Linked DNA regions of Homo sapiens: region 2 is linked to region 1. Evidence: promoter capture Hi-C in 16 types of primary human blood cells and fetal thymus (Javierre and others, 2016). All regions are on one chromosome and are shown on one strand. The core of a region is centred on a gene start or on the middle of the fragment in contact, and the rest is flanking DNA. Distances in the headings are between cores, read along the strand shown.

The links. Contacts are between HindIII fragments. The CHiCAGO score rates a contact against its expected background, and 5 or more counts as called.
Region 2: a contact is called between a fragment that was not itself captured here and the fragment with the promoter of ZRSR2 in region 1, in 5 of 17 cell types (total CD4 T cells, activated CD4 T cells, total CD8 T cells and 2 more). The highest score is 6.1, in total CD4 T cells.

What each region holds. Positions count from the first base shown.
Region 1 is chrX:15,786,692-15,792,903 of GRCh38, reverse strand. ZRSR2 (zinc finger CCCH-type, RNA binding motif and serine/arginine rich 2) reads right to left here and starts at 2,420. Exons shown (of 11, transcript NM_005089.4): 1 at 2,368-2,420; 2 at 1,891-1,970. The coding sequence starts at 2,408. CA5B (carbonic anhydrase 5B) reads right to left here. Exons shown (of 8, transcript NM_007220.4): 8 at 4,493-6,212. It overlaps CA5BP1-CA5B (CA5BP1-CA5B readthrough), which reads right to left. Exons shown (of 12, transcript NR_160544.1): 12 at 4,493-6,212. It overlaps INE2 (inactivation escape 2), which reads left to right and starts at 5,315. Exons shown (of 1, transcript NR_002725.2): 1 at 5,315-6,212. RefSeq lists enhancers at 933-1,434, 2,093-2,542. The HindIII fragment of the contact is 2,263 bases long and covers 1,634-3,896 here.
Region 2 is chrX:16,787,236-16,793,949 of GRCh38, reverse strand. The region is part of intron 1 of TXLNG (taxilin gamma); the gene reads right to left. Among named protein-coding and RNA genes, the nearest start is that of TXLNG, 4.1 kb to the right of the region's middle. RefSeq lists an enhancer at 4,642-5,142 and a silencer at 6,699-6,714. The HindIII fragment of the contact is 430 bases long and covers 2,526-2,955 here.

The sequences.
Region 1 (6,212 bases), core at 1,171-3,670:
GTCCAAGAATCCTAGTTACTTGAGGCCATGGTCTCTGGATTTTAAGAATTGTCTAGGATAATTTCATGAGCATATTCTGGATAATGCGGATGACAATCATTATAAGCCAGTACTACTGTGTGATTTCAGTGCTCCCATCTGGATTTATAACTACTACATAATTTTATAACTAAGTCCTAATTTTATTGCATTAAGCAGGTAGATTTAATACATAAATGTTAGGTTTTGCCATGTGAAGGTCAAATGACCATCTGTACAAATAAAGGTTCTACAGTAATTTCATAGAAAAAGTGGTAAATAACTATAAGGCAACATTAGTAGAGGCATTCCAAACTCCCATCAGTGCCATATACATATTGTGAGGAGCATTAGTTTCACATCATCCCTAGCATTACCTGATGTAGATTTAAATTTTACCGAATGTGTAATTTCATTTAGTTTTATAATTTATAAATGTATTTTTATTTGTTTGTTTGTTTTTTGAGACAGAATCTCACTCTGTTGCCCAAACTGAAGTGCAGTGGCAGGATCTCGGCTCACTGCAACCTCTGCCTCCCAGGTTCAACTGATCCTCTTGCCTCAGCCTCCTGAGTAGCTGGGATTACAGGCACCTGCCACCAAGCCCAGCTAATCTTGTATTTTTAGTAGAGGCAGGGTTTCATCATGTTGGCCAGGCAGGTCTCGAACCCCTGACCTCAGGTGATCCATCTGCCTCGGCTTTCCAAAGTGCTGGGATTTCAGGCATGAGCCACCACGCGCCCAGCCCATATATTGTTTTATAGTCAAACAATGGCTTCAGGTCAGGTGTGGTGGCTCATGCCTATAATCCCAGCACTTTGGGAGGCCGAGGTGGAAGGATTGCTTGAGGCCAGGAGTTCGAGACCAGCCCAGGCAACACAGTGAAATCCCGTCTCTACGAAAATTTTAAAAATTAGCCAGGTGGGCCAGGGGCGGTAGCTCACGCCTTTAATCCCAGCACTTTGGGAGGCTGAGGTGGGTGGATCACCTGAGGTCAGAAGTTCGAAACCAGCCTGGCCAACATGATGGGGTTTCACCCCATCTCTACTAAAAATACAAAAATTAGCCGGGTGTGGTTGCGCACGCCTGTAATCCCAGCTACTCGGGAGGCTGCAGCAGGAGAACTGCTTGAACCCAGGGGGCGGAGGCTGCAGTGAGCCAAGATCGTGCCACTGCACTCCAGCCTGGGCAACAGAGCGAGACTCCGTCTCAAAAAAAAAAAAAAAAAAAAAGAAAAGAAAAGAAAAAATTAGCCAGGTGTGGTGGTGAATGCCTGTAGTCCCAGCTACTAGGGAGGCTGAGGTGGGAGGACTGCTTGAGCCTGGGAGGTGGAGGCTGCTGTGAGCCGTGGTTGTGCACATCCCTCCTGGGCAACAGAACAAGACCCTGTCTCAAAAATAAATAAATGAGCTTCATAACTAGTATTATGTTGATATATATTTGAATAACATAATAATTTGGGTAAACCAAGGGTCTCATATTAGTCAAGTTTGAGAAAAACTTGCAAAACGTCTAATTAATACCTTCAACTCCTGCTGGTTTTACGAAGAAAAACATTCACCGAATACTTACTACGTGTGCAAGGACTGTGCTAGCTGCTGTAATTCATGAAGCTTGCAACTGTAATATTAGATACTTTATAAGTTACACAGAATCAGTGGGCGATCATTCACCAAGACTTCCTCTTCCTGCCTTTAGTATGTTAACATTGTTTCTGACATGTGTTTCTAAATAACTACTTGGGGGCAGAAGTCACAGCTATTTTTCCTCCGACACAATATTTGACTTCCTTCTGACACTGGGGCTTCAAGTTAGGGCTGGAGTGGACAGAGCAATTTCACAACACAGAAAACAGAATAAAGAGTCCATCACCTGAGTCTCTCAGTCGAGCAAGTTCCTGCCGACGTTTCTTTCGTTTCTCCTTCTTCAGGGCGGCCCTGTACTTTTTGTGGCTGGAAGATTAAGACATATACACGACGATCAGCGGCTACAATGCAGCGCTGCCCGAGCTCCCCGCTCCTCTGTGCCCAATGAAAGGAAATAGTTCGGGTGCTGAGGAGAGAAACCTTGCTTCCTGTATTTTAATTACAGAACAGCCATCTATCATCGCCTCATCCTCCCACTCCCAGACAGTTCTTCTCCATCCGCCAACCTGATCCTCTCCTCGCTTGCCTGAGCCACAGCCGCCCGTGCAAGTCCGGGGAGGGCACCAGAGCGCGCACCAGGAAGGAATGGAGCTGCCGCGGTGGCTCACTTAGCTTGGCCCAGCTTCTCTTTTCTTCCTGCCACCACATCCTCCATGCCCACGATCGGCCCGCTCGCCTGCTCATCTCCCCGTACGGCGCTTACCTTGGTTTCTCGGGAAACGTCATCTTCTCGGGCGCAGCCATCTTGCCGGCACCGCCCCGCCCCTCCAGGTCTGGCAGGAAAGGGCGGGCCTAAGAGTCGAGACGGGCACGCGCAGGCGCGGGTACCGAGCAACCTCCACCAGCGTGGGACTTGAAACGGAAAGCCGGAGGTACCCTTCGGCGGCTCGTCTTCCAGAACCCTGCTCAAATAAATACCTCCTTCCAGCAAAAATACTCTGGGGCTTTTACCCCGCCCTAGAAGTAATTGTCGCTTCAGCACTTGCCCAGTGCTGTATCACTGTCTCCCTCCTCGCCCTAGCAGGACGTGTTGTGGCTAGGCGGTTAAAGTCGTACTCTGCCGCTTTTCTCAGCATCCACTCATGAAGTCACATCGCGCACAGAGCTGCTCGCCCGGCTTTATTTCCGACCTGTCCAGGTTCCGCGTCCTTCCGCCGATCCACCTATCAGCGCCTCAGACAAAGCTCCAGACTTCGCTCCCTGCCAGTCACACCTGTTCTGGTCCCTTAAGCAAACCTAACTCCCAGGGCTGCAAAGCTGTTACCTCTGCCCCTGAGGAGTTTACAATCGAGGGGGCAGAGAAGAACCAATACATAATATGATGCAGGCAAAGATGAAGTTTACCTAACATAGTCCACCAAGGGATTCAGGGAGAGCTCTCTTTTTTTTCCTTTTTTCTTTTTTTTTCAGTATCACATGCGACTCAACTGCAGTATCAGGGACAGCTTTCTGATGCTAAGAGTTGAGTTTGGAAAGAAGATGCCCTTTACCCAGAAGGAGAAGGGTGGGAATGCAGTTACAGTCAGATCAGCATAAGCAAAGGCGCTGAAAGGTGAAAGTGGAATATGCTGGGAACAGCAAGAATTTTGGCAATCGAATTTATTTATTTATTCATTTCTTATATATTAGAGACAGGGTCTTGTCTTTCACCCAGGTTGGAGTGCAGTGGCGCAATCACGACTCGCTGCAGCTTCGACCTCCTGGGGTCAAGCAATCCTTCCACCTCAGCCTCCCGAGTAGCTGGGAATACAGGCGCGAGCCACCACGCCCGCCCAGCTATCCAATTTAAAGTGCAGTTCGAGGCTGGGTGCAGCGGCTCACGCCTGTAATCCCAGCACTTTGGGAGGCCTAGGCGGGTGGATCACCTGAGGTCAGGAGTTCGTCAGCCTGGCCAACATGGTGAAACCCCGTCTCTACTAAAAATACAAAATTAGCCGGGTGTGGTGGCACATGCCTGTAGTCCCAGCTACTCTGGAGGCTGAAACAGGAGAACTGCTTGAACCCAGGAGGTGGCGGCCGCAGTGAGCCGAGATGGCACCACTGCCCTCCAGCCTGGGCAACAGAGCAAGGCTCCGTCTCAAAAAAACAAAACAAAATAAAGTGCAATTCGAGAATATCAAGGAATATAGTTGTTGTGATGGGCTGGGAGGGCTAGGTTAAGGAGGGCCTGGTGTGCCATGTTAAGACGCTCTGTTTACATTCTGTAGAGACAACAGTGAACCGTTGAAAGCTTTTTAAATAGAGGCTTATTGTGGTTGTGTTTGTGTTTTAGGTAAATCACTCTGCTTTGCAATATAAAGGATTTAAAAGATAAAACTAGAGTATCACAATAATCTAGGTGAGAGGTGTTGAGGAATTAAACTGGGGCAATGAGAGTAGGGATTGAGAAACTAAAAATCATCCCAACTAATAATCAGACTGTAATGTACACATACAAGGCCAGGGACAAGGCCAAGCAAAAAATGTTCCTCACAAGGATGCATTACAGCTGTAAAATGACTAATAACCTCTATCTTTTGAGTGATTGAATAGCTTCCTTGGCCTACCTTTGTTCCGTTCTCCTCCAAATTAAAGTTTCTGAGATACTCAATTACTAAACTGCCTTCCTTCCCCTAATCCCTCCTTAGAATTACTCAGCTGAAGCCCAAACTCTGCATAAAACCTCACCCTAATCTCTCTTATACTGACACACTTGGAGCAACACATATGCCCTTCACCCCCAAGTTGACCTTGTCCAGCTCAGTGCATTGGTTGGCTGTGATCTTGAGTAAATTCCTTAATGTCTACTCCTGTTTTCTCATTTGTAAAAATCAAGATAGTAATAATAGTTCCCATCTCATAACCCTTTTATTGTGAAAACTGAGTAAGATAAGCCATGTTATATGCTGATACAGTGCCTAGCAATAGTGAATGCCTCCAAAACTTTAGCTGTTACATCATCTCATCACCATCATCATTAGTGTGAAAACTTCCTGACCCCTCAAGAGGGGATGAGGCGCTGTATGCATTTCCAGTACAAGTATTCCACCTTTTATAACATCTATCATGGTTTACTACACATTGTCACCTTTACCTTTCTGCTTCTTGACTAAATCTTAAACTAAACTCTCTAGTTGGAGGTTTGGCAGTTGTATCCCCAAACTAGAGTGCCCTGGATGGCACAGAATGTTGTAGCTATGCAACTCACCAATTTTGCTGGTCCCTGTGATCAGAATTTACGCTGAGAATTGCTGCCCGTTCTGAAAGCATCAGTGTTTAAGTTGTTGTAACATTTCTTCTGAATCAGACCAGACTTTCACTTCAGAACAATAAGTAACAATTCCTTCTAAGAAATCTCGGCTCACTGCAACCTCCGCCTCCTGGGCTCAAGCGATTCTTCTGCCTCAGCCTCCTGCGTAGCTGGGATTACAGGTGCATGCCACAACCACCTGGCTAATTTTTGTATTTTTTAGTAGAGACGGGGTTTCACCATATTGGCCAGGCTGTTCTCGAACTCTTGACCTCCGGTAATCTGCCCGCCTCGGCCTCCCAAAATGCTGGGATTACAGGCATGAGCCACCGCACCCGGCCATAGATTTTTTAGTGAGTTAGAAATGAATGTAAATTTCCTTTTATAGGAGTTAGACATTTATTTTTAACAATTAACCACTGAATTCATTTTCAGAAATAGGCCTGAATTGCTTGTTAATTTCATTACAGGAAGTAACTCTAAAAGCCAATTCCACTTCCAAACTATAATTACCATCATCTGAATTTAACAGGGAAAGACATCTTCCAAGACTTCTTTTGGGCGGATGCTTAGTTTTAGAATAGCCAACTTTACCCTAACCCATGTACAAGACAGTTCTCCAGGTGGCCTTGGACTGACCCAGTTCTCCCTTCTTCCTTGCTTGTAGTTCTTAAGAATAACTGTAGAATGCACTGGGAATGCAATATCCTGATATGGAGGAACTGCCTGAAACAGGTTGGCCTTGTTGTTGTCCCTCCTAGGGAATGTAACATCTTGATTTAGGGAACTGTTTGAGACAGCGAGGTTGTGTTCCTCTTTCCCCTGGAAGGAGGATGTACTTTAAAGCTTTGCCCAATGAGTTATGTGGCTCCTATGGTATATAACCCAAGGCAGGCTGTGGTGCAAGTGGGGCACGTACAATCAAGACTCCATCAGCCCCGCCCTGGGCAGCTTTCTTGAGCCCTGGGGGACTGGCTCACAATGGAGCCAGGGCCTCTTTTGTCCCTTGCTTCCTGTCTGTAAGTAATAAATCTGCTTCATGTAATGTATTGGGTGTGAGTGTGTTCTGTCACAATGGAATCAGACAGGTTGGTAACCAGTGTACACTGAACCTGCTTGGCACCATGTAGCCCTGGGAAAGGAGAAAGGCGGTCACAGCTTGCCCTATATGGTGATGCCAGCACACTGTGCACTGTACTGTGCAACAGAAAAAGGTGCACTGAGGAGGATCGGCTGCTTCTTCCCATTGTTGCTTCTTTAGTAAATCCCCTATGAGTTTTTAGTCGCTTTCTAATCTACAAGTTAAAGGATATCTCATT
Region 2 (6,714 bases), core at 1,491-3,990, 1.0 Mb before region 1:
AGGCTGCGTGCAGTGGCTCACGCCTGTAATCCCAGCAGTTTGGGAGGCCAAGGCAGGAGAATCATGCTTGAGCCTAAGAGTTTAAGACCAGCCTGCGCAACATAGGAAGACCCTGTCTCTCAAAAAAAAGAAAAAAAACAGCCAGACATGGTGGCACACACACCTGTAGTCCTAGCTACTAGGAAGGCTGAGGCAGGAAGATCACTTGAGACCAGGAGTTCAAGGCTGCAATAAGCGTTAACTACACTCCAGCCTGGGCAACACAGGGAGATCCTGTCTCAAAAAAAAAGAAAAAAAAAAAAGATATTTTACAAAATGCATTCATTCTCACTTTTAATATGGCCCATTTTGCAATCCAAAAGACCCATAAAGAAATGAGTTTCTAAGCTACTGGCACATCTTTCTTGCCAAACCATTCTACTACCTTGAGAGTAGGGAAAGAAGAAACATGAAAAAAAAAAAAAGTAGCCAGTAAATATTACTCAGGACAGACTATAAGGTGGGAAGTAGGAGATAACAGAGGTCATTCTAGGGACGTTTTGGAAATGCAACACAGAATGCAAATCAACACCCTAAGCAATAAATGCTAATACAATTATTTTGATAGCATAGGAGGAAAACACCAGTTATTTTATGTATCTTTTCCTTCAAGTAATAAAATGTAAGTATTTATAAGTGCCAACAGAATTTCAACTAGGAGGTAGATTCAAACATAAAAATGTACTCCCAGGGTCTTAATGGATCTTAAAGGTCACCTTACCTATTTCTACCCTCTTCTAGAAATGTCCCATCTCAATGTTGATGAATATGATATTAAATTTGTATATTATTGTATACTTTTTTTTTTTTTTGACACGGAGTCTCCCTCTATGTCACCCAGGCTGGAGTATAATGGCACGATCTTGGCTCACAGCAACATCCGCCTCCCAAGTTCAAGTGATTCTCCTGCCTCAGCCTCCCGAGTAGCTGGGATTACAGGCATGCATCACCATGCCCAGCTAATTTTTGTATTTTTAGTAGAGATGGGGTTTTACCATGTTGACCAGGCTGGTCTTGAACTCCTGACCTCAGGTGATCCACCTGCCTCGGCCTTCCAAAGTGCTGGGATTACAGGCATGAGCCACTGTGCCTGGCCTATACTTTTTATTTTTATTATTATTATTATTTTTTAGAGACAGGATCTCACTCTCTTGCCCAGGCTAGAGCAGTGGCCCAATCGTGGCTCACTGCAACCTTGACCTCCTGGACTCAAGTGATCCTTCCACCTCAGCCTCCCAAGTAGCTGGAACTACAGGCACATACCAATGTGCCTAGCTAAGTTTTTTATTCTTCATAGAGACGGGGTCTCCCTGTGTTGCCCAAGCGGGTCTCAAAATCCTGGCCTCAAGCAGTCCTCCCGTCTCGGCCTCCCAAAGCACTGGGATTACAAGCATGAGCCACCATGCCTGGCCCATACTTTATAAATACTGACACACCCGTTATATTAACTAAAAGTTATTCATAATCACATTAGAACCAAACAAGAGGAATTAGGGGGAGGGCAGCAGGAAGAGGAGGAACAGGCAAACAGATTTCTTGAGGTATTAAGTTAAAACTTAACGAGGTAAGCAGAAACTTCCTGGGCATTAGAAGACATCTGTCATACTATCAATTACACAACTATACACTAACCCTAGCAAACGTCACCAACTGTGGGCTCTATTATTCAAGCAAGTTTGTTTCTGACTAAGACTCAGATGCCTTATCTATATACCTGGGGATACCACCTACCTTGCAGAGTTAAGGAGATATTAGAATGCATTCACACCTTAAGTGACTAACACAGTGCATGAAACACAAATGAAATTTGAGGTCTCCAAATTTCTTTCCTTTGAAACATAACTCTGAGAAGTGTAAAACTGTGACAGCATATCTATTTAATAGAAGCCCATTATAGTGAATCTTGTGAAGAATCCCACAAAAGCAGTTTTATGTCATTTGGATTTGATATATACCTTCCTAAACAAAACTTCTCTAGGCAAGACCAATATAAATAACACACAAAATAACATAAAACACCTTCCAGGCAGGGCGCGGTGGCTCATGCCTGTAATTCCAGCACTTTGGGAGGCCAAGGCAGGTGGATCACTTGAGGTCAGGAGTTCAAGACCAGCCTGGCCAACATGGTGAAACCCCATCTCTACTAAAAATACAAAAATTAGCCAGGCCTGGTGGCGCATGCCTGTAATCTCAGCTACTCGGGAGGCTGATGCAGGAGAATCACTTGAACCCGGAAAGTGGAGGTTGCAGTGAGCTGAGATTGCGCCATTGCACTCCTGCCTGGGCTACAGAACAAGACTCCATCTCAAAAAAACAAAATAAATTAAAAATAAATAAATAAAACACGTTCCAATAACATAATAAATATGACATAATATGATATGAAAATGTGGCATGAATAGCAGAATATGCTGTATCTGGTTTGTTCTCATTACTGCTTGTCCTATTTGATCCCAGTAAAAGAAAAAAATAAATTTACCAAAGCTTGGTGATACAATTAGAAAACAATGGTGTAAGCAGAAGATCACTTTACTTTACTTCTCATTACTTAATCTCTGTACCAGAAGAGTGGAAGTTCATCAAGTTGGCAAATGGGGAGAAAAACAAGATTAATGAAATGGCTTTTTCCTGCCCCCATACTCTTGCCCAACCCTGACCTGATTTCTCCTCATTATGTCTATCACGGAGAGATTCTGGGAAGAGGAGAGAATATAAAGGTTGGAAGATGGATTTACAAAATTAGCACCCTAAATGCAAGAGAAATTAATCTCTTCCATATGTCCTCCCCTCCAAACCATGTAAAATTCTACATATCCCACACTGTGCCAAATGTGTCCCATCAACTCCTTCTTCACAGTAATCCCCTGTGGTAGGTATGAGCATTATCCCCTCTTTACAGATGATGCAACTGAAGCTTAGAAAGATTGAGAAACTTGCCCAAGGTTGCAGAGCTATGGGCGGCAGAAAGCCAGGAGTCCCAACTCCAAAATCCATAGATTTACCCAGTACTACACTACTCATTACTGTAGTATAGATGAAAGAGTATTGGGTTCCAGACTCAGCTTCACCCCTTAGGCAAGTGAGTTAACATCGTTGAGCAGCTTGTCATCAGCAAATGAGGGCAGTGAAAGCTGCCCAGCCTTCTCCACAGCATCTGACTGGTGCTGAAAGAGTTAATGTATGTGCAAATGTGCCATAAAAACTACAGGGCATTATGTAAATGCAAGATTTTGTTAATTTGGGCCTAGGTACCTTGTATTATCCTTCCACATGGTTTATGGACCTAAAAATTAGTTTAATAGTAGTTAAATAATTTTTAACATTCCCAAGCAAAAATCTAGTAAAGAAAAAAAATACCAACCTTAGACAAGCTGGAAAAGGCAAAACTATGGAGACAGTAAAAAGATCAGGCCAGGTGTGGTGGCTCATACTTATAATTCCAGCACTTTGGGAGGCCAAGGCAGAACGATCGCCTGAGCCTAGGAGTTCAAGACCAGCCTGGGCAACATAGCAGGACCCCCAACTCTAAAATTTAAAAAAAATAAAATCAGTGGCTGTCAGTAGTCTAGGGGAAGGGAGAGAGGGATGAATAGGTAGAGCACAAGGGATTTATAGGACTGTGAAACTCTTCTGTGTGATACTATAATCGTGGATCCATGTCACTACACATTTGTCAAAATGCATAGAATATATAGCACCAGAGTGAACCCTAACGTAAACTATGGACTTAGTCAATAATAATATAGCAATATTGGCTCATGAATTTTAACACAAGTATCACACTAATGCAAGATGTAAATAATAGGGGATAAGGGTCGGGCGCAGTGGCTCACACCTGTAACCTCAGCACTTTGGGAGGCCGAGGCGGGCAGATCACCTGAGGTCAGGAGTTTGAGACTAGCCTGACCAACATGGAGAAACCCCGTCTCTACTAAAAATACAAAAAAAATTAGCCGGGCGTGGTGGCACATGCCTGTAATCCCAGCTACTTGGGAGGCTGAGGCAGGAGAATTGCTTGAACCCGGGAGGCGGAGGTTGTGGTGAGCCAAGATCATGCCATTGCACTCTAGCCTGGGCAACAAGAGCGAAACCCCATCTCAAAAATAATAATAATAATAGGGGGAAAGGGTGTGTGTGAGGGGGTATATGGAAACTGTACTTTCTACTCAATTTTTCTGTAAAACTAAAAACCATTCCCAAAAAAAGTCTATTAATTTTTTTTTAAATCAACCTTATAAAGCAAATTCTACATAGGGATTTAGGAAGTAAAACGAATGAGCCTGATGTTCTAAAAAATGCCTGACATACTAGATATTGTGTACTCATCTTTTTAGACCAATGCTGATAAAATTTTTATGCAATGATGAAAATATTCTAGATCTGCTCTAATACAGTAGCCACTAGCCACACTGGCTACTGAATACCTGAAACTTGGTTAGTATAACTGAAGAAAAAAATTTTTAATTTTAATTTTAGTTAACAAATTTAGCTACATGTCACTAGTGGCTACTATCAGCACAGTTTTAGAAAATTCCTGAAGAGACCCCTAGTAATGTACTGTAACATTACCTTTAGAAGCAAAAGGTTACCTCAAGAGACCATTCAAATGGTTGTAGTTATGAAACAATGCCACAATTAACTGAGCAGGTCGCGAGTGACTAGGCAGATGGTTAAAGCAACCAGGAACCAAAAAAGCCCATCTCCAATTGTTCCTCACTTCAGGTCCCATAATGTAACTAGATAATGACAAAACACTCACTTTTCTTTTAATTCTTTCAATATTTTCAAAAAACTCAATTCATTAAACATTTCTGCTTCCTGAAAAAAAGGATAGAAGTTAAGCTGGAATTAAGAAATATTTTTTCAAGTCAGTGACCCAAAAGAAATTTTAAAATTAAGGGACACAATGAAGTAATGTAAAAATGATTTTTAAAAAAATTTTTGGCCAGTTGCAGTGGCTCATGCCTGTAATCCCGCCACTTTGGAAGGCCAAGGTGGGTGGCTTACCTGAGGCCAGGAGTTCAAGACCAGCCTGGCCAACATGGTGAAACCCTGTTTCTACTAAAAATATAAAAATTAGCTGGGCGTGGTAGCACACATCTGTAATCCCAGCTACTCAGGAGGCTGAGGCACGAGAATCGCTGGAACCCACGAGGTGGAAGATGCAGTGAGCCAAGATTGCATCACTGCACTGCAGCCTGGGTAACAGAGCAAGACTCTGACTCAAAAAAAAAAAAAAAAAACACAACAAGTTTGTTTGTTTTTTTAAGAGACAGGGTCTCACTCTGCGGCCCAGGCTAGCCTCCTGCTTCAGTCTCCTGACTAGGTGGTACTACAGGTGCATGCCACCATAGCTGGCTTAAAAATGATTCTTGCAAACACAAGATAATTCACCCAATTTGTTAAATGAAAATTCAAAGATTAATATTTTACCATGTATTTGAATGCCGTCACTGTCAGTTAGAAATCAAAAAGAAAAAGATGCTCAGAAGAGCATAAGCAAAGAAGAATGGAGTATGAGGTACATAAACAAAAATGAGTAGACACACACATGACTATTCCTATCCAGCTGTTAACCAGAGCTCTGCACCTCAAAGGGTCATTACCTCCTATCTTGGTTATTTTAAATGCTAGTTGATTAAACCTCAGTTCCTAATTCAACGACTTTTTGTCCTTATCCCAGTGTCATAAAAGGGAACTTATATCCTCAATTGCAGTGGCTTTTTATCAGAGTCCTCCTCCCCTGGGGAACCTACGAAATCAAACACTGAGATTGGCACTCCACCCTTAGGGAATAAGTGAAGTGTCCAAAGTGATGGTGTTGAATCCCTTACAGGACATTGGTCCACAGCTTCTTTTTCAGTCCTGCAAGCACTGGATCTTTCTTTTAGAATACAAAGAGAGGGAGAGAAAGAAAGAGAGGTAATTGAGAAGTAGTAACACTGTCATGCAGAAACATGAAAATACCTGACCTTAGAAACAGGCCCCAAAAAGCTAATTCTTAACACTCTGCTCAGACGTAAACTGGACCTTTGTTCTCCCATTTGAAGTTTATGAATTGCATTAGAAAAATATTATTTCGTAATTTCATACAGGAGTTAAGAGTGTTCAAATACATAATTAAGTAATATTAAATAGCCCTCGGTGATCAAGCAAGATATCCAACAAGTCGAACGTTTCAGTATGTTCACCTGCAAGGAAAAAAAGAGATGGGGTTCCCACCTTCCCAGTCTCAGTCCCCGCAATTATCCATTCCAGGGCCCCGAAAACCCTGTACCCCGTTCGTTGTGCAATCTTTTTCAAACTCCACCCACTGAGCTCCAGAACAAGTGGAATTGTCCCGTTCTGAAAGAGGTCTCAATTTTCCTGTATCTAGGGAGGGACTGAAAACTCCTTGACGTGAGTCAAGTAAGGCAAGGGGAACAGTCCGGCCTGTTTCCCAGATTAAGAAAGACCCAAGGCCAGGGTCGGGAAGGCATTCAAGTTTCCACTCATCAAATTAAAAAAATAATAAATGAAAGAAAAAAAAGAGGGGAAAAAAGAGGAGGGTGGTAAATAGGACTGGGAGGACCAGCTATCATGCGATATCCCAACTCTGCAGGACCGAGGTCCTCCAGCATCGCCTCCCCATCCATCCCCGGCCCCACGTGCAGCCAAGCCCTCGGAGCCCCGGGG